7 separate regions of the Homo sapiens genome follow, and regions 2, 3, 4, 5, 6 and 7 are each linked to region 1. The links are contacts of gene promoters, found by promoter capture Hi-C in blood cells and fetal thymus (Javierre and others, 2016). All regions are on one chromosome and are shown on one strand. The core of a region is centred on a gene start or on the middle of the fragment in contact, and the rest is flanking DNA. Distances in the headings are between cores, read along the strand shown. Region 1 holds the start of GKN2 (gastrokine 2). Region 2 has its middle 14 kb from the start of FBXO48. Region 3 overlaps APLF (aprataxin and PNKP like factor). Region 4 overlaps APLF (aprataxin and PNKP like factor). Region 5 overlaps APLF (aprataxin and PNKP like factor). Region 6 overlaps APLF (aprataxin and PNKP like factor). Region 7 overlaps GFPT1 (glutamine--fructose-6-phosphate transaminase 1).

What was found. The method cuts DNA at HindIII sites, captures the fragments that hold promoters and counts their contacts. A CHiCAGO score of 5 or more calls a contact.
Region 2: a contact is called between a fragment that was not itself captured here and the fragment with the promoter of GKN2 in region 1, in 9 of 17 cell types (activated CD4 T cells, naive CD4 T cells, total CD4 T cells and 6 more). The highest score is 17.4, in activated CD4 T cells.
Region 3: a fragment that was not itself captured here is called in contact with the fragment with the promoter of GKN2 in region 1 in 8 of 17 cell types (activated CD4 T cells, naive B cells, M0 macrophages and 5 more); the score reaches 8.5 in activated CD4 T cells.
Region 4: a contact is called between a fragment that was not itself captured here and the fragment with the promoter of GKN2 in region 1, in 8 of 17 cell types (activated CD4 T cells, total CD4 T cells, total B cells and 5 more). The highest score is 10.5, in activated CD4 T cells.
Region 5: a contact is called between a fragment that was not itself captured here and the fragment with the promoter of GKN2 in region 1, in 6 of 17 cell types (naive CD4 T cells, total CD4 T cells, naive CD8 T cells and 3 more). The highest score is 8.6, in naive CD4 T cells.
Region 6: a contact is called between a fragment that was not itself captured here and the fragment with the promoter of GKN2 in region 1, in 6 of 17 cell types (activated CD4 T cells, naive CD4 T cells, non-activated CD4 T cells and 3 more). The highest score is 8.4, in activated CD4 T cells.
Region 7: a fragment that was not itself captured here is called in contact with the fragment with the promoter of GKN2 in region 1 in 1 of 17 cell types (M1 macrophages); the score reaches 5.1 in M1 macrophages.

The regions. Positions count from the first base shown.
Region 1 is chr2:68,951,502-68,954,237 of GRCh38, reverse strand. It overlaps GKN2 (gastrokine 2), which reads left to right and starts at 1,345. Exons shown (of 6, transcript NM_182536.3): 1 at 1,345-1,388. The coding sequence starts at 1,377. The HindIII fragment of the contact is 766 bases long and covers 741-1,506 here.
Region 2 is chr2:68,451,711-68,454,446 of GRCh38, reverse strand. No RefSeq gene overlaps it. Among named protein-coding and RNA genes, the nearest start is that of FBXO48, 14 kb to the left of the region's middle. The HindIII fragment of the contact is 539 bases long and covers 1,107-1,645 here.
Region 3 is chr2:68,469,851-68,472,586 of GRCh38, reverse strand. The region is part of intron 1 of APLF (aprataxin and PNKP like factor); the gene reads right to left. Among named protein-coding and RNA genes, the nearest start is that of APLF, 3.6 kb to the right of the region's middle. The HindIII fragment of the contact is 2,738 bases long and covers 1-2,702 here.
Region 4 is chr2:68,490,560-68,493,295 of GRCh38, reverse strand. The region is part of intron 2 of APLF (aprataxin and PNKP like factor); the gene reads right to left. Among named protein-coding and RNA genes, the nearest start is that of APLF, 24 kb to the right of the region's middle. The HindIII fragment of the contact is 4,870 bases long and covers 1-2,736 here.
Region 5 is chr2:68,509,140-68,511,875 of GRCh38, reverse strand. All of the region lies in intron 3 of APLF (aprataxin and PNKP like factor), which reads right to left. Among named protein-coding and RNA genes, the nearest start is that of APLF, 43 kb to the right of the region's middle. The HindIII fragment of the contact is 6,502 bases long and covers 1-2,736 here.
Region 6 is chr2:68,531,462-68,534,197 of GRCh38, reverse strand. All of the region lies in intron 6 of APLF (aprataxin and PNKP like factor), which reads right to left. Among named protein-coding and RNA genes, the nearest start is that of APLF, 65 kb to the right of the region's middle. The HindIII fragment of the contact is 2,573 bases long and covers 54-2,626 here.
Region 7 is chr2:69,347,773-69,350,508 of GRCh38, reverse strand. GFPT1 (glutamine--fructose-6-phosphate transaminase 1) reads left to right here. Exons shown (of 20, transcript NM_001244710.2): 10 at 326-431; 11 at 2,175-2,338. Among named protein-coding and RNA genes, the nearest start is that of GFPT1, 38 kb to the left of the region's middle. The HindIII fragment of the contact is 498 bases long and covers 1,096-1,593 here.

The DNA of each region.
Region 1 (2,736 bases), core at 96-2,595:
ACTAGGTAACCCTTAACTTGCCCAGATGTCTACTTTTTGAGAACCCCATTTTTGTTTAAAGCTGCTAAAGTTAGAAAGTTGTTTCAGCTATAGAACAAGGCCATTATTTATGTTATCTCTTTGTTTACTGTGGTGATTCTCAATATTTTACAATTTTGCAATTTACTGGGGTTTTTTGTTTTGTTTTGTTTTGAGATGGAATCTTGCTCTATCACCCAGGCTGGAGTGCAGTGGCATGATCTTGGCTCACTGCAACCTCTGCCTCCCGGGTTCAAGCAATTCTCCTGCCTCAGCCTCCTGAGTAGCTGGGACTACAGGCGAGCACCATCACGCCTGGCTAATTTTTTTGTACTTTTAGTAGAGACGGGGTTTCACCATAGTAGAGACGGGGTTTCACCATGTTGTCCAGGCTGGTCTCAAACTTCTGACCTCAGGTGATCTGCCCGCCTTGGCCTCCCAAATTGCCGGGGTTACAGGCATGAGCCACTGCGCCCAGCCGCAGTTTATTGTTTTTGTTGTTGTTGTTGTTTGTTTTGTTTTTAAATTTCCCTTCCTGAGTTCATGATTATACCCTGACACTAACTAGCCATTTCTAATTGTCATGTTAAAAAAATTACACAAATTAAACTTTATTCTCTTTCTCTCTCTTTTTTTTTTTTTTCAATCTAAGAATTTCTTAATACTCTGCAAGATAACTAGAGGTCTCTAACTTACAGTTTTGTGCAGTTTTGGGCGAAGCTTAATGTAAAAATTTGGTTAAACTTGGTAATTGGGGAGAATGCTTTCTGAGTCTTGTTCCTCATTAATTTCTGGAAATTGACACCAAATCTAAAGGGAAGAACGAAGAAAGTCCTAGGCTGTTTGTTCTCCAAGCAGGCCTCCCCAGCCACTGTCTTGGCACCCCGTCTCATATCCGTTCCCTCTGTGGAAGAATTCAGCCAGCAGAACAGTGGTGAAAAGACATTGAGTTGGGGCCCAACTCAGGCCTTAAGGAAGCACTCTTCCTTTAGGAGGAGATGTTAGAAGTTTGTCCTTGTAGAGCTATAAAATGTATGCATAGAACAAGCATCATGCAATATTTTTAAAGGGTGGAAATTAAAATGTCAAGTGCAGCATAGTACAAATAGCAGGGAATATTTACAGAGTGACCAAGTGGTGAATTTTCATTACTGACTAATGAACTTCATTGATATCAGGTATGTGGTTGGATCTCAATTCTGATAAAGGAGTTTGCTAGGGTGTGTCAGAGATATAGACATGGTCTTTTCCAAAGTGATCATTTGAAAAAGAGATATCCACATCTTCAAGCCCATATAAAGGATAGAAGCTGCACAGGGCAGCTTTACTTACTCCAGCACCTTCCTCTCCCAGGCAAAATGAAAATACTTGTGAGTATTTGTTTCTGCTTCTTGATACTCTTGTGGTGACTGCTTGCAGACAATGCTCATATCTAATATGCCATGGATTTTGGGAGTCTTAGACAGATACTGTGCATGCTTCTAAGCTTCTGTGATTGAATTAATGACATCTTTGGCAGAAATAGTGTTGAATAAGTCTGACTTTTTTTGTCCTTTTCCTGTTTTGAGATGTTTACTTAAAAGAAAATTCAAAAATACAAAGAAATCTCTAGATAATTTTGATTTGGAGGATGTTTAATAATAATCCTTTATTATGAGCTTCATAGGGAATTTGGGCTATTTAAAACAACTACATTTGCTATCTAAGAGAGAAGCTGTAGTTTAAAAATAATATCAGTAATAGTAATAATAGTACCTCTCATTTCTCAAATGCATACTAAGCCTTAGACTAAGCATATCACATGAATAATTTCATCTATTCATTGCAACAACCCTATGAGTTGAGTAGTATTCTCCCCGTTTTACAGATAAGGAGACTGAGAGGCAGAGGAATGTGATTTTCCCAAGCCCGTAAATGTGGGATTTAGAATGTAATTTATCCATCTGAATCCCCACTTGCAGGCGCAATCATGGCAAATTTAAGCAGCCAGAGTGTCTTCAATGTCCTCTCATTATGACTAAATTCTCCCTTAGGACAAAACGTTCCTTCTATGGCCACTCCACCCCTCCATCTGATCCCAGCCTCCGTAGTTCCACATTGCAGTGCCCCATGGACAGTGGGCTATGTTCTGACCTAGAATGGAATTCGCTCCCCTAGTCTCTGTCCTTTATTCTCATTCAGCTGCTAAGGGAGAAAGCAAAATGTTAAGTACCTCTTTCTAAAGTGTTAAAGACTATCAGCTTAAAGAGCTCCCTCTCTCAGGGCTGTCTTGATTTTCCAAATTGAGACCTAACCCTGAAGCACAAAAGTATTATATAACCATGGTGTATTAACCACAGTGTTGGAAGGGAGATCATTTTGGGGCAGAGGACACTCCCCAAGCTCTCTCTAATCATACCATTAAAGTGGTTTAGTCCTTCGACTACTTGTTCAAACCACTATTTTAGACTCATTAACTAGAATATACGGGAGTATCATATGTTGCTGGAGCTGGTCTGTGGTAAGAGAAGATGTATCCCTATGGAAGGCTGAATATCAGCACACAGGTCTTTGTTAGATGCTCTACTCCCAGTCCCCAGAAGAGAAATATTAAGGGTGGGATGGAAAGGGAAGTAGGAAAGTCCCACTGACAGTTCTTAAAAATATCCCCCTTCCCCAAGACTCCTTTCATCAGCAGTTTTCAAATGACAGTGCAGTCAACTATGTACTGATGTAGTT
Region 2 (2,736 bases), core at 127-2,626, 500 kb after region 1:
CTAAAGGGAATAATTTGGAATTAAAAAGACCTTTTTCTTCCTCAAGTGCCTCTATCATTTTGTTGTGCCAACTGAAGAATCACGAGGTTCATGAATGTGGAAAGGAGAGCTTTATTTCTTATAAAGGGTTGCAGCCTGCAGGCTGGCCATCCCACAGCCTGGGAAGGGTAGCTTCTGGCAGAAACCAGAAGCAGGTACTTCTAGGGAGGGAAGGGTAAGACAGGAATTTAGGCTGAAAGGGTCAGCTAAGTATATACATTTAACAGGCTATAGGAGGAGCTATGAATATTCACAAAAGGGGAGTGCACTCATGCACAGCAAGCTAACATGTATGTTACCTACATCCTATGTTCACTTTAGGATGGAAACTTAACATTTAAATGTATTAAAATTAGGCTCTATACGTCAAAAGCTGAAACAGAGGACACAGAAGCATCCTGTGTGCAGCTTCTGTAAACCGGCCAGAACCAGTCCATGGTTAGTGGCCTCTTATCAGGAAGGAATGATGGTCAGTTGTTGTGTCAAACTGCAAAAAGGAAGAAGAGTCCAGCAAGTCTTCAGAAAGGGCCTGTTTCTGTTTAACACTTAGGAGTGGAAGTATAATGGCAAGTAGCAAGGGAGGGAGTATAACAGGGCATGTCTGACCTCCCAATCCATCATGGCTGGGAATTCAGCTTTTAAGATTTCTCTAGGATCTCCTTAGCCAAGAGGGGAGTCCTTTTAGTCAGTTGCAGGGGGGACCTTTGGATTTTATTTTCGTTTCTCAGTTGAAAGCCTAGCAGTTAAGACTTCTGAGTCTTCTATGCTTGAAAAAAGTCTTTTGAAATTCAAAGCTGAGTTCTGACTTCTTTATTCTCGGCTGTACCTACCAGACCCACAAAGCACTGGATGCCTGTCTTTCCAGGCAGAGAGCTGCAGAGAAATAAGAATTACTGGGCATGGAAAATACAGCGGAATGTATTACAAAAAAAAAACAACCCATTCTAGTATTACTCTACACAATAAAATAATGCTGGAAAAGGAAGAAAGAGTAAAAACTATAAAGAACAGCTGAGACAGAAGAAGGTAATAAACAAGGCATGCGGGTTGGGTTTCTAATAAAAGCTTGACATCCTTATATTGAGTTCTACCACAAGTAAAACTGACTTTTTTCATGAACCTGTTTGCATTTTCCAATACCTCCTTGTCCTTACCCAGTCAGGGCCGGATGGAAATAAAAAAAGATAAAACTGCAGTTTTACAAGTACCACACCAATCATACTGTATTATCATAAACATTAACTGCTCAAGAAAAAATTTTTCTTAATTAATTAATTTAGTTATTTATTTTTAGAGACTGGGTCTCACTATGTTGCCCAGGCTGGCCTCGAACTCCTGAGCTCAAGCAATCCTCTCCCCTCAACCTCCCAAAGTGCTGGAATTACAAGCATGAACCACTGTTCTGGCCCAAAAGAAATTTTTAATAATCATTTTCTGAGGCCTACTTTTCTGCTATGGGTCTTCTGTGCCTTGTAGGGGAAAAAAACCCAGCTGCTGGTTTCCCAGTTTGCTCATTTTGATTTACTTTTAATATGACAAAATTATACAGTCCATTTGTCACACAATGAAATCCTGATAGAAAATATGTAAAACCATAAAAGAAGCTTTCTAAAAATCACACGTGAGAATCTCCCCCACTTATTGCTGTGGTTGTGTTTTTTTGTTGCCTAACAAGTAGATTGAGCACAATTTCCTGTCTTTATTCTCATTGGTTAGTGAAGAAAATAAAAAGGACTGCTTTTGCCATTGTTTTCCTGTGTATGGCCTACTTTTTTCATCAGTTCAACTTTTTTTTTTCTCTCTCAGACTTTTATTATATATTTTTAAACGTGCTTTCTCCCTAAATGTTTTATTTTGAAAGTTTTCACTCTTACAAAAAATTTCAAAGTCTAGAATATGGCATCATCACCTAGATTAACCAATTGTTAACTTTAACCATGTGTGCTTTATCTCTGTCTATACCAGGTCCCTAAACTTTATCACTATTAACATTCTGGGCTGGATAATTCTTTGTTTGGGGGAGGGGCAGGGGTGCTGTCGTATACACTGTAGAATGTTTAGCAGCACCGCTGGCCTCTATTCATTAGATGCCAGTAGCACCACTTCCCAAGTGCTGGCAACCAAAAATGTCGCCAGACATTGCCAAATGTCTCCTGGGGGAAAATCCCTCTTGTTAGGAACTACTGGTTTATACTACATTTTAAAAAAACACCTAAATGTCCATCAACCAAGAAGAGTGGATAAAGAATAGATATCTATAATATGTATATTTATATATAATATATATTATATATTTTATATATAATATATATAATTTATATATAATATATAATATATATTTTATATATTATATATTATATATATTATATATAAAATATATATTTAATATAATATATAATATAATATATATATATTTTATATAATATATAATATATATATTTTATATAATATATAATATATAATATATAAAATATATATTTAATATAATATATAATATATTATATATAATATGTAATATATAATATATAATATATTATATATAATATGTAATATATAATGTATATTATATATTATAATATATAATATATATTATATAATATACATTATATATAATATATATTATATATAATATACATTATATATAATATACATAATATACATTATATATAATATACATAATATACATTTTATATATAA
Region 3 (2,736 bases), core at 84-2,583, 480 kb after region 1:
TTCTTATACCTCTCTGTACCCTGTGACATCATTCTGTCTAGCTTGAGGACTAAGCTCTGATTATTATTTTTTTTTATCTTGCCCAAATTCCTTTCTAAGGGGTCTGGGGAGTCATGCCCTACAAACCATAAATTCTCATCAGATGAGTTTTATTTAACCCTGTATAACGTGACTTACTTTCCAGTCTGACTCAGGCATAACAAGGAAGAAAATCAAAATGTTTTACCCTAAAATATATTTCTTTGCCATACCTTGGAACTGTCCTGCAAAGTCTCTTGTGGGAAAAACCCACATTCTATAGAGAATTCCCTTTCCCCTTTGTTTTCCTTCCTTCCTTTCCAGATCCAGGAGATAATCAATTAAGAGCCAGGCACTCTTTCAGGTCTCATAAGAAACATTTTACAACCTGCTATCTCTGAAGTCCGCTATCTGAGAGCTCTGCAAAATAAAACTTCGTCTCCACAATCCTTTATCTTAACCTGAACATTTCCTTTGATCTTAGGTCTTGAGATAAACTCAACTAATTGTCAACCAGAAAATGTTTAAATTTACCTATAGCCTGGAAGCCCCTGCTTTGGGTTGTCCTGCCTTTCTGAACCAAACCAATGTATTTCTTAAATGTATTTGATTGATGTCTCATGCCTCCCTAAAATATATAAAAACCAAGCTGTACCCTGACCATCTTGGGAACATGCTCTCAGGACCTCCTGAGGGCTGTGTCACGGGCCATGGTCACTCATATTTGGCTCAGAATAAATCTCTTGAAATATTTTATAGAATTTAACTCTTCATCAACAGACTCATGGTATTTAACCAAAACTTTTAATAAAAATGTGACCTTTTAAAAATCAGTGATTATATCTAAAAATTCAAATTTCTTACTATTCTTAAAAAAACAATATGACACTGTTACCAACTGGGAATAGGGGAAAGTAGCAGGGATTGCATAGAGACCCTCTCCTTGTGGCCTTCCCAACACTGAGGCAGAACTGTTGTCATTTATCACTGTCCCTGTGTTGTTTTTCTTCTTCCCTCCCACTTCGCTTACTCCAAGTGTCAGCCTGGCGCCAGTCCCCATGTGAGGTTGTAGCCTTATTTAGTTACTAATACTTGTTTATTTGTCTCTTAACCCTACAAAACTATAAGTTTCTTGAGAGCAAAGACTTGTTTCTCATTCACCTTTATTTCTCCTATACTCCCTCCCATCCAACCATAGTATATATTTATCAGCTATTTCCTGAATTTAGCGAATTATCAATCAACAAAACAGGAAAAATGTTAAAACTTAATTCATTATGAATGCTACTCAAGATTTAGCAGTTGGTAGGACTGCATCTTTACTATATTTAAATTCACTTCAAAACTCAATGATAACCCTTTTTCATATCTAAGTCACAATTAGGCTCTTTTTGAGGGTAGAGTGAATGAGAGGCTGAGATGCCGAAATGGAAGGAAGAAATCACGTGTTAAAGGCCTACTGTGTGCTAGGCACTGGTTGTAGGCTAAATAATAAAATGAGGGAAGGGCAAATCTAGAAATAAAAGAAACGTAAGGGAAGAAACCTATGTTGGAGCAGGTAGGAACAGCATTCCAGGACAGCCAGGATTCTGCAACAAGCAGTTAAAAGTATAGAGCTGCCAGGTCAGGGGATGGTTACTTTGTGTAAACTTTGTAGAACATTTACAACATTCTTAGAAGTGGTGAACTGATGCCACCTGAAGAGTCTATACTGAAGCCTATGACCTTCCCTGTTCCCCCAACTGAGGACTCTTCTCCTTTTAATCAAAGCAGTCAATTTAATTACATCTACATTGAGAAAGTATCACTAGATATCTTTTGCTATCTTGTTTCCTAGGAGGAAAATAGATCATAAAGAAATGTGTCATATAATCCCTGCTGTCAAAACAAAATAAGAAAAATCTGAAATCAGAAATAGTAGATTTCATTTAAGAGTGTAACAGCTTTAATTAAAACCCATAAAGCAAATACTTTGGCCTAACAGTGCTTGACATGTCGTACTGTAAAACCCTTTTAAATTAAATTTCTTAAGATAATGGTAGATTCACATGTAGTTGAAAGATATAATATAGAAATATCTCTTGTACCATTTATCCAGTTTCCCCTAATGGTAACGTCTTACAAAACTATAGTACAATATATCAACCTAAGATATTGATACTGACACAGTCCAGACAAAGCACATTTCTATCACCACAAATATCCCTCATGTTGCTATTTTATAGCCATATCCATTCCCTTCTGCCCTGCTGCCTAATTTTTTAACCTTTGGCAACCACTAATCTGTTCTCCATTTTTGAAATTTTGCAATTTCGCAATTTCAATGATGTTATATAAATGGAATCACACAATATGTAATCTTTTGGATTGGCTGTTTTAACTCAAGTTCTCTGAAGATTAATCCTGCTGTAAAACCTTCTAACTGATGCCAATCATGGAGCAGAATCAAAATCTAGTAAACAAAGACCTGGGGTTCTCTGATGACTCACATGAAAGCAAAGGGAACAAGAAAGATTAAATTTCATTGTCCTTTGTTCTCTGTGACAGGTTTCTCTGTTGTGTTTTCCTACCACCATAAAAATACAAAACCATTCTCATTGTCAAACTGTTTTACTACCAAGACTATTTTACACAGTCAGATTATAAACTTTTATGTTTGTGTGGCCATCAAGGTTTGTGAAGCTTGTCTCAGAAAAACATGCCCAATTAAGAAAGTTC
Region 4 (2,736 bases), core at 146-2,645, 460 kb after region 1:
GATAAAAACTCCTCTTCCCCACTGATACGCAATGCTAGCCCTGGCCCAGTCAAATTTCCACATACATAAGTCCAAATCTAAGGTTGCTTTCAGTTCTAAAATATTATTCAACTGAAGGCACTAAAACTTCTTGTTAAGACAGATCATCAATTAGTTGTAACTTGAAGAAATTTTTTTAAAGAAAAGACACCCAATGCCAAGAGAATCCTGACTTCAGAAACATAACAACAACAAAAAAATACTACAGAGTTCAAAGAACCTGGGCTCTCATTCCCATTCTAGAATTTGCTGAGTATTTAAGATCAGACGTTCTCCAGAAGGCTATGACATTCTAAGTTGTCAAAAAAAGGTACTCGAAAAAGGATAAAAAAGAGCTACCTTTCTCCCATGTCTAAACATCACATTTATGGGAAAGTTTACAAAATTACACTAAATAATATTTAAAAGATCATAAACAGAGGTATAACTTAAATAAATCATTCCAAATTTTAGTTTTATATCTAGTGGTCATGAGGAATTTTTGCTCTAGCTTCTAGTATTATTTCTACTACAGTTTTGTGCTCAAAAGACACCTGTTAATGTCATACATAGTGGTTTTATGATCTGCGTACCATCTAATTAAAGACCCAGTAAAAGTGAAGAGTATTTTAAAAAGGAGCCTTTTTATAACTGAACACTGCTAAAATCTCACATAGAAATTTGGCTCAGTACATACTGGATAAAATTTAACTCAAGGTAAGATTTTCAACTAATAAAATCACCTTTAATTTGGGCATATTTATTTTACATTATTAGTACTCTTTTTTTGTTTGTTTTTTGAGGCGGAGTCTCGTTCTGTCGCCCAGGCTGGAGTGCAGTGGCACAATCTCGGCTCACTGCAAGCTCCGCCTCCCGGGTTCACGCCATTCTCCTGCCTCAGCCTCCAGAGTAGCTGGGACTACAGGCGCCCACCACCGTGCCCGGCTAATTTTTTGTATTTTTAGTAGAGACGGCGTTTCACCGTGTTAGCCAGGATGGTCTCGATCTCCTGACCTCGTGATCCACCCACCCCGGCCTCCCAAAGTGCTGGGATTACAGACGTGAGCCACCGCGCCCAGCCTTATTAGTACTCTTTTGAATAGCCACAAAAGTACAAAATATATCTGAATAATTTTCAGCCAAGTATAGACACAACTCCAACTAAGCACCTTTATTAAAGCCAATTTATAAAACATTTTAAAATATAAATGTCCTTGATTAACACTGAGAAAAAATGTAAATGTTTAAAATATTCATGCATTAGTAAATATGACGGTTTTCTAATCACCTATTTTTGATATAAAAAAATTTAATGCCATGTCAATTTTGTTATAAGAAGGGTTTCTTCTTATCATTGAGTAAACAAAGAGTGTAAAGAGAAAATCTGATATCTATTGAGTTGTCCACAATTCCACTGGTTAATTTGTTCACAAAATAAATGTGCTGACATGGACACAGTGGCAGAGCAGACACTGGAGACTCAGAAGGGTGGTAGTGTGAGAGGTGGGACAGGGTTGAGAAATTACCTAATGGGTACAATGTACACTATTCAGGTGACGGTTACACTAAAAGCTCAGATTTCACCATTTCACAATATAATCATGTAACAAAACTGCACTGCACTCCCTAAATCTATATAAATAAAAAATAATCATTTCTATATTTCAAGATCCCTCTATTCTTTCCTTTAATGTGCTTTAGTAACAACAAAAAAACTTATTTTAGGCCATGGTAGTTCATTGGCAGGGTATTAGAAATTGGGCACTAGAGAATAACATACTTTTGTAAAAATCTACCATGTTCCCACTCCTAGATATGCCATAGATAGTTCTCACCACAGCGTTTACTCATGCATTCAACAAATATTAATTAAATACCTACTATGTCTTAGGCACTATGCTAAACACTAGGGATACAAAGATTAGTCAGAGTTCCTACACTCAAGGGCCTTATGATCCAGTATGTCATCTCAGAAGAATAAGATAGCTGGAGAGGATACAGAGATGAATATCTAATGGTAAATACAGTGGCTCCTAAAGAAGTGTTGACTCCAGATATTAACACTTTTTCAAGACAATAAGATAATGCAGAATGAAGATGAGACATAAACTCTTTTAAAGATTATTTATTCAAGGTTGAGATAAGGTGAATACATTGAATAATTTTTTATTCAAAAAATTTCCAAGTACTAAAATTAAAAAGATGCTTTCCAAATTTGCAAACAGTTAAACATAGGATAATAAAAGCAAGTACTATCTGTGTAAAAGAAAGAACTAATGATTTAACAGGCAGTGGTATATAAAATATGAAAATACAAATTGGTTTTAAAAAGTTATAAATTAATGAATTCCATGAAATTTTACCACCATACGATCTAGTCTAAAATAAATGGACCCTTATGTACGTATTTCATTCTCTTACACAATAGACTCTGCAAATGAAAAGGAATAATCACATTGTATATTCTTGGAAACTGGCTGTCCCTGCATATCATCAGTGATTTCGCAGCAGTAAACTATAAAGCAAGCAATTAAAATTCGAGCCCTCAACAAAAACTTTCAAATTAAAATCATTTTTCAAACCTCGAAGTTGAACAAAGTCTAAGTTTTAGAAATATTCAACTCTATACAGAGTGATAGAGAATATGTTAAAATATAACCCTATAACATTTAAGTTACTTTGGTCACTACCCCAGCTCAAAAAACCAACCATTAATAG
Region 5 (2,736 bases), core at 140-2,639, 440 kb after region 1:
TACTTAGAGTAAATTACTATGCAGCATCACATTTTTTGTTCATTCAATCAATATTTTTAAAACTTCTACTGTGTGTCAAACACTGTGCCAGGTGCTGGAGACATATCTTGGAAATGTCTGATTGTCCTAGCTATGAAAGTTCACTCCACTACAATACCCAGTCCTGTTTTACTCACAGGTTACAGGTGTACTTCCAAATTATAATTTTTTTCAAGTTTTCTTAATATTTAACATGAAAAATATTAAGAAACATTCAATAGTAGTTTGATGATTTTTCACAATTTATAGTATTAGGAATTAAGTAACATCATCAATTCCATTTCTAGTTTATTTTCTATTGTGGCATAAGTCTGAGATGAATTCATATACACTCTATAGTCCATATGTAATTTTTATTAATAGTTACCCACAATAAACGTAACAAAAAAAATTTCAGAACAAAATTCTATTTAACATTTTATTCAAAAAGTACAAGTACAAATTATTCTACTACACATTTATTTAAATATAAAACACTGTCACTGTGATATATATTTTTATTTTATCTTCAAATACATCTATGAGTAATCAACTATCACAGGATTTATAAAGCATCACTACAGAATATTTTAAATAAAAAATTAAAACTTGGAAAGTTAAATGTAGTCTAGTAAAGGTAATTGAGTTATCCTTTTTTATAACTGCTTTATTGAAAAATAATCCATATAGTCATAAGATTCATCCTGTTAAAGTGTACTATCCAGTGGTTATTAGTATGTTAACAGAGTTGTGCAACTATCACCAATATCTAATTTTAGAACATATTCAACACCTCAAAAAGAAATTCCATATGCATTAGCAATCTCTTCCTATTGCCTCTTCCTCCTGCTCCTCGCAACCATTAATCTACCTTCTGTCTCCAAAGATCACATTTTCTACATATTTCATATAAATGAAATACAGTATGTGGTCTTTCGTGTCTAGCTTTTTTACTTAGCATAATGTTTCAAGATTCACCTGTGTTGTAGCATATGTAAATATTTCATTCCTCTTTATGGCCAAATAATATTCTACTGTATGACTATACAATACTTGTTTATCTATTCAACAGTTGCTGGACAGCTGAGTTATTTCCACTTTTTGGCTATTATGAATAATGCTGCTGTGAACATCTATGTACAAGTTTTGATGTGGACATAGGTTTTCAATTCTTTTGGGTATATACATAGGAGTGGAAATGCTGAGCCACACAGTAATTCCATGTTTAAACTTTTGAGGAACTGCCAGAATATGTTCCAAAGAGGCTATACCATTTTATAATCCCACCACAATGTATAATAGTTCAGTTTCTTCACAACCTCACCAACACTTGTTATTATATTTTTGATTATAGCTTTCCTAGTAGATGTAAAGTGGTATCTCATTGCGGTGTTAATTTGCATTTCCCTGTGACTAGTGATGTTGAACATTTTTTCATGTTCTACTGACCACCTGTACACCTTCTTTGGAAAAATGTCTATTCAAATCAGTTATGCATTTTAAAATTGGGTTGTTTGCCTTTGCATTGTTGAGGATTCTTTAGATATTCTGAATATAAGTCTGTTATATGTGATTTACAAATATTTTCTCATTCTGTGGTTGTCTTTTCACTTTCTTTTTTTGTATATTATTATTTTTTTATTATACTTTAAGTTCTAGGGTACATGTGCGCAACATGCAGGTTTGTTACATATGTATACATGTGCCATGTTGGTGTGCTGCACCCATTAACTCGTCATTTACATTAGGTGTATCTCCTAATGCTATCCCTCCCCCCTCCCCCCACTCCACAACAGGCCCTGGTGTGTGATGTTCCCCTTCCTGTGTCCAAGTGTTCTCATTGTTCAATTCCCACCTATGAGTGAGAACATGCAGTGTTTGGTTTTTTGTCCTTGCGATAGTTTGCTGAGAATGATGGTTTCCAGCTTCATCCATGTCCCTACAAAGGACATGAACTCATCCTTTTTTATGGCTGCATAGTATTCCATGGTGTATACATGTCACATTTTCTTAACCCAGTCTATCATTGATGGACATTTGGGTTGGTTCCAAGTCTTTGCTATTGTGAATAGTGCTGCAATAAACATACGTGTGCATGTGTGTTTATAGCAGCATGAGTTATATTCCTTTGAGTATATACCCAGTAATGGGATGGCTGGGTCAAATGGTATTTCTAGTTCTAGATCCCTGAGGAATCGCCACATTGTCTTCCACAGTGGTTGAACTAGTTTACAGTCCCACCAACAGTGTAAAAGTGTTCCTATTTCTCCACACCCTCTCCAGCACCTGTTGTTTCCTGACTTTTTAATGATCACCATTCTAACTGGTGTGAGATGGTATCTCATTGTGGTTTTGACTTGCATTTCTCTGATGGCCAGTGATGATGAGCATTTTTTCATGTGTCTGTTGGCTGCATAAATGTCTTGTTTTGAGAAGTGTCTGTTCATATCTTTCACCCACTTTTTGATGGGGTTGTTTTTTTCTTATAAATTTGATTGAGTTCTTTGTAGATTCTGGATATTAGCCCTTTGTCAGATGAGCAGATTGCAAAAATTTTCTCCCATTCTGTAGGTTGCCTGTTCACTCTGATGGTAGTTTCTTTTGCTGTGCAGAAGCTCTTTAGTTTAATGAGATCCCATTTGTCAATTTTGGCTTTTGTTACCATTGCTTTTGGTGTTTTAGACATTAAGTCCTTGCTTATGCCTATGTCCTGAATGG
Region 6 (2,736 bases), core at 91-2,590, 420 kb after region 1:
TAGTTTCTGCCAACATATTTCATCTATTCATGCTAGCCAGAAATTTAGAAGCTTTTTACTCCTTCTTGCCCTCTCTCCCCAGATCCAAGCAAGAAGTCCTACAATTTTATTCCTGAATACTTTTATAATCCAATACTTCTTACCATCCTTAAAGTCACTGCCCTAGTTTAGATTCTCTATTTCTTCACTTTGTTAATGCCACAATCTCTTCCCTTACCTCCAAGTCTTTTATCTTGTTCTTTTCCAATCTCTCCTCTAGTGAGCTGCCAGGATTACCTCTGTGACTGAAAACATTTCAAGGGCCCTTCTCTATGAACTGGTCACACTGCTGTCTTCACCCTATGAGACCTGGTAACTTGCTCTGACCAAAAGAATTCAGCAAAAATTACAATTCCAGTTCTAGGCCTTAAAAGATCTAACAGCTTTGACATCACTCTCTTGGGGCCCAGATGTCAGGTGAAGATGCTCAGTCTAGGCTACTTCATGGTACAGGGAGGGAGGTGGGCCCAGCCAGCCCCCAGCCATTCCATCAACCTTTGCTGAGGCACCATTCACACGAGTAAAGCTATCACAGATGCTTCATCTTCAGCTGAGTTCTCAGCTGAATGAAGCCCAGCTGACACCAAAAACATGTCATAAAAGAATTGCCCAGCTGACCCCAGCCAACCCACACAATTATAAGGCAGAATATAATCATAATCACTGACATGATCATGTTGTGTTAAGCCACTAAGAGTTGGAGTAGCTTGTTTCACAGCAATAGACAGTTAAAACACTTTACCATACTATTTTCGCTTATGTTGTTTCAGTTAGGCTTCCTTCTGTCATTTACAAGAGTTCTCATTAGATTATAATATAATATAGATTATAAAGGAAATACATAGTCTGTTTTGTAGCTGTGATAACAGAATATCACAAACTTGAAAATTTATAAAGAACAGAAATTTATTATCTCACAGTTGTGGGGTCTGGGAAGTCCAAGATCAAGGCACCAGCATCTGGTGTGAGGCTCCTTACTGCATTCTTACATGAGGGAAGGTGGAAGGGCATGAAAGGATGAATGCTGTGCCCTTATATGGCAGAAGAGTGAAAGAGTGTAAACCCACTTCTACAAGCCAAGCCCCCGACCTTTTTTTTAGAGATGAGGTCTCCTTACGTCACCCAGGCTGGCCTTAAACTCCTGGGCTTAAGCAGTCCTCCTGCTTCAGCCTCCCAAGTAGCTGGGACTACAGGTGCATGTCACTGCATCCAGCTTCACAATCCCTTTTTATAGCAGCATTATCCATTCATGAGCACAGAGCCCTCATAACCTAAACAGCCTCCCATTAGGCCCACCTCCCAATACTGTTGCTCTGAGGATTAAGTTTCAACATAAATCTTTAGAGGAGATAAAAACACTCAAACCATGGCAACCATCCTTTTCACTAAAGTTAATCAATTCAAGTACCCTCATTTTCACATCTAAATTAGAAAGTCACATAACTGGGAAGGAGTTGTAGAAAGACATACAAGAACTGATGAAAAATATAGACTATTTCTGACAACTGTCTTATGAAGAGAAGTTACTACAGTCACAAAACTCTTTACATAGTCTAATACGTATGGTAGAAAAATTCATTATACCCAAAATGAAAATACCTACATTTGAAGCCAAGTTTCCTAACAATGTGACCTTGGGCCTCAGTTTCCTCTGAGGTGTTCAATGATGATACAACAGTAGCTCTTAATTTTGAAGGGACACTAAAATTGGGAGAGTTTAAGATACCACTGATGCACAGGCTCCACACACCAAATGAATCAGAATCTCAGAAACAAGGTCTAGTTGGGCATAAGTGATTTTTGTCCCTTCTCTCCACTGATTCTCCTACTTTTCCCTAAGAGAATGTAATTCTTTCCAAGTAGATTGATCCAAATGTAGGCCTGGCCAAACTGTTGTTAGTTTTTTGTAGCTGGCAACCTCCTGCCATTAGAATAGATAGGTGAACCTAGCCTCTTGTTTTCTCTCTCACCTGCTCTGCACTACAGCTATCCCTTTAGGACTAGCTGTTCTAAAGGTTCAGTGTTCAGACTCAAACTGGGCAGGGATGGAGGGTGGGGTTTGGAAAGGCTCTGCTGGGATTTTCAGTCTAAGTCATATTCTCTGGCTCAGCTTTACCAGAGAGCCCTGCATAAAGGATCATGAAAATTTAAGCCTTATTTTTCCTGTGCTAGAAGAGGTAAATCTTCCTCACAAGGAAGGGAAGGAAAAGCAACTGGCCAAATAGAACTTGGGCATTCCTCGGACCTGGTTGTAATACTCCCTTGATGTCATCAAAACCTCACAAATAGCTTGAATATCTTGGATCTGCTCCTCTCTATAATCTATCAATTAAGATGTTTCTCAAAGTTTTTCTTGTGATTATCAAACCTTATGGGTTGGGATAAACAGAGGAAAACACGTATACTACAGATTTTCTTCTGAACACAATAATTTCTCTTGAAAAAAGGCAACGTCAATTGACATGTTCAGAGTTCAGAGAATAGAGTACATAAGGGCTCAAAGTTTATACAAAACAAATTTTGTTTTAATAAGTTTTATGGAAAATATATGTGAGCCAGAAAACATTTTGTTTTCATTTATTAAGCTTGCCTCCATAAGTAAAGCAAAGGAACTGAGTGTATAGCGACCAGGCCCCACTTCTGTAGCTGGAAGACAGGCTCCAGTGAGAAGCTGGTTCCTCTCTCTGGGAGAGAGGG
Region 7 (2,736 bases), core at 95-2,594, 400 kb before region 1:
ACATACTTTTGATTTAAAAAACCGGTTAATATTAAGGAATTACTTGTCTTTTACCTGGAAAATAAATATTATATTAAAAAAACATATAATGTAGCACTTTTACCTGCCACGCACTCTTTGATAGTTGCTACTTCACTGTACACTTTTTGTCTGTTCTTATTGGCTTATTGCATGGAAATAAGGTGATCTACTTGGCTTTTTAAATTTGCTAAAATTGTTTTGTGTTGCTATGATTTTTTCTTGATTTTATAGAATATTATGCATATTTCTACATTGGACATGATTTTCTACATGTTTGCCAATTCATGTTAACTATATGCTTTAGGCAAAGACAAGAAAGGAAGCTGCAATCTCTCTCGTGTGGACAGCACAACCTGCCTTTTCCCGGTGGAAGAAAAAGCAGTGGAGTATTACTTTGCTTCTGATGCAAGGTGAGCTTCCTTAGTTGATTCAAAGAGATTTTTAGTAAAACTTCTCATTCTGCAGGAAACCCAAGAAGTCATTGTGTATCAGTCTAGTTGTGCTCTGTGAGATAACTTTTTAAATTAAAGAAATACAGGTGACCATTTTGGAGATGGGGCTGTAAGGACACTTTTTCTGTCATTTCAAAGTATGTGGGTCAGTTTACTAAGAACACATATACTGCTTGAGACTTGTTCCAGTGTATTTATTTTAGAGCTCTTACATTTTTTTCCTTCTTATTTCAGGAGCCTTATCCAGGTTTTGAAGGGAGGAGATTCTAGATTGAAGAGTAAAATGGCTTAGTTAGTATCCCAATAGTTATAGCATAGTTGCTAAACTATTGTAGTTTTAGTCTAATGTAGATACTCATCTTTTACATTTAGAATTAATTTGCAGCATAATCATTTTTATAAAGGGATAGTAGTAGACTAAGATATTTTGAGAGAAAATGCAGGGGGATGTTTACATGCATTTGTAAATGAAATAGTAATGAGGATAAAATAAAATCACCGAAATTGCAAACAAGTATTTGAGTCATCCACTGTACCTGAAAATAAGAGAAAATAATAAAAATAAGAAAATAATGCCATTTAGGACATCAGGGAATATATTATCTCAGTGGGAAAACAAGCTTTACTCTTTAATGTTTTTACAGGTGTGTAAGGTGTGTAGTCAGGGCTAAGATGTGTAAGATTACACAGTTGACAGTTATGGCTTAAATACACTGGAATTACAGAAACATATCAGCCTTTTCTCATTCATTTATACATTCATATTGAACACTGGGTGAAGTCATATGCTAGCGTCAGGAGATAATGGTGAGTAAAAATAAAAATATTACTTTTCCTTAGGAGCTCTTCCATAGTGAGGAGGCAAATTTTAAACAATGATCACAGAAGTGTAGAATTCCAGCTGTGACAAGAGCTGCAGAATGCTAGTAACAGAGTGATTTACCCTTGGTGGGTAAATTTCTTTAAGGGAATGATGTTTGAACTGAGAGTTAAGGAGAGATTAGGAGTTAATTAGGTTAACAGGTAGAGGGAGGAACATTCATTCTTTGCAAATGGCTCAGCCTGTGAGAGTTTAGGATGGCTTTGAGTGTGGCCAGAATAGAGAGAGTGAGAGGAAGCTTGGGGGGAGATGAAGCTGGAGAAGGAGGTATAGGGATTACGGTAAGGCACTTTGTTGTCTCTCTGAGAGCCAAAGGGAAACTGTCAAATGGTTTGTTGAGTGAAGGAGAAATCTTTATTAGAGTTGTTGCCTTTTGATATCAATTTTGGCAGAAATGGAGGATGGACGGAGAGAGATCAGAGAGAAAGTGGGTGGACTAATTGGGAGATCGCTGCAGTAGTCCACCCGAGGAGCTGATGGGAGCTTGAATTTGTCTGGTGGTGGACATAGAAACTAAGAATATTTGGAAGTTAAAATTTCAGGACTTGGTAATGGATAGAATGAGGAGGAAACAACCATGCTTTCTGATCTAATCTGTTTGGTTTAGATTGCTATGCAGAGTTCCTTTTATTTTTTGTCCACAATGACCACCTTCCCCATACTTTCCTGTAGGGGTTGGCATTAGTAACCAGAAAATTCTCTGAGATACTGCAGAGTGATAGAGTTTATATTGAAATTTGGTTCTTGTATCCAAATGATAGTTTCATTTGTAATAATGATCCTTGGTTATCGATTGTAATATCTCCTTGAAAACTTTATAGTGCTGTCATAGAACACACCAATCGCGTCATCTTTCTGGAAGATGATGATGTTGCAGCAGTAGTGGATGGACGTCTTTCTATCCATCGAATTAAACGAACTGCAGGAGATCACCCCGGACGAGCTGTGCAAACACTCCAGATGGAACTCCAGCAGATCATGAAGGGTGAAAGTTTTTGTCATGTTATAGCTTGCTGTCCTTACTGGAAAGAATATATTCTACTTCCTTTCCTAGCATATTAAATCTAGTAATGAATGATGAGTGGAATCTTCCACATGATTAGTGAAGGGACAACGCTAGGAAAAGGGATGATTCTTTAGAGAAATTATCTGCTGTTTTTACAATCGTCTTCAAACTAATTAATGATTTGTTATTTGTAACATTATAAAAAGGTTATTAACACTTGATACTTTAAAGATACTTTATAAACATAAAAATAGTTAATGTTCTGTTCCTTTTTATTCTCTTTGTGCTTTAGTTTTCTTATATATAACATGAGGATAATATAGCCTGCCTCATTAAGGTTGTTTTGAGGATTAAGAAGCTACTATATGGCTGGGTGC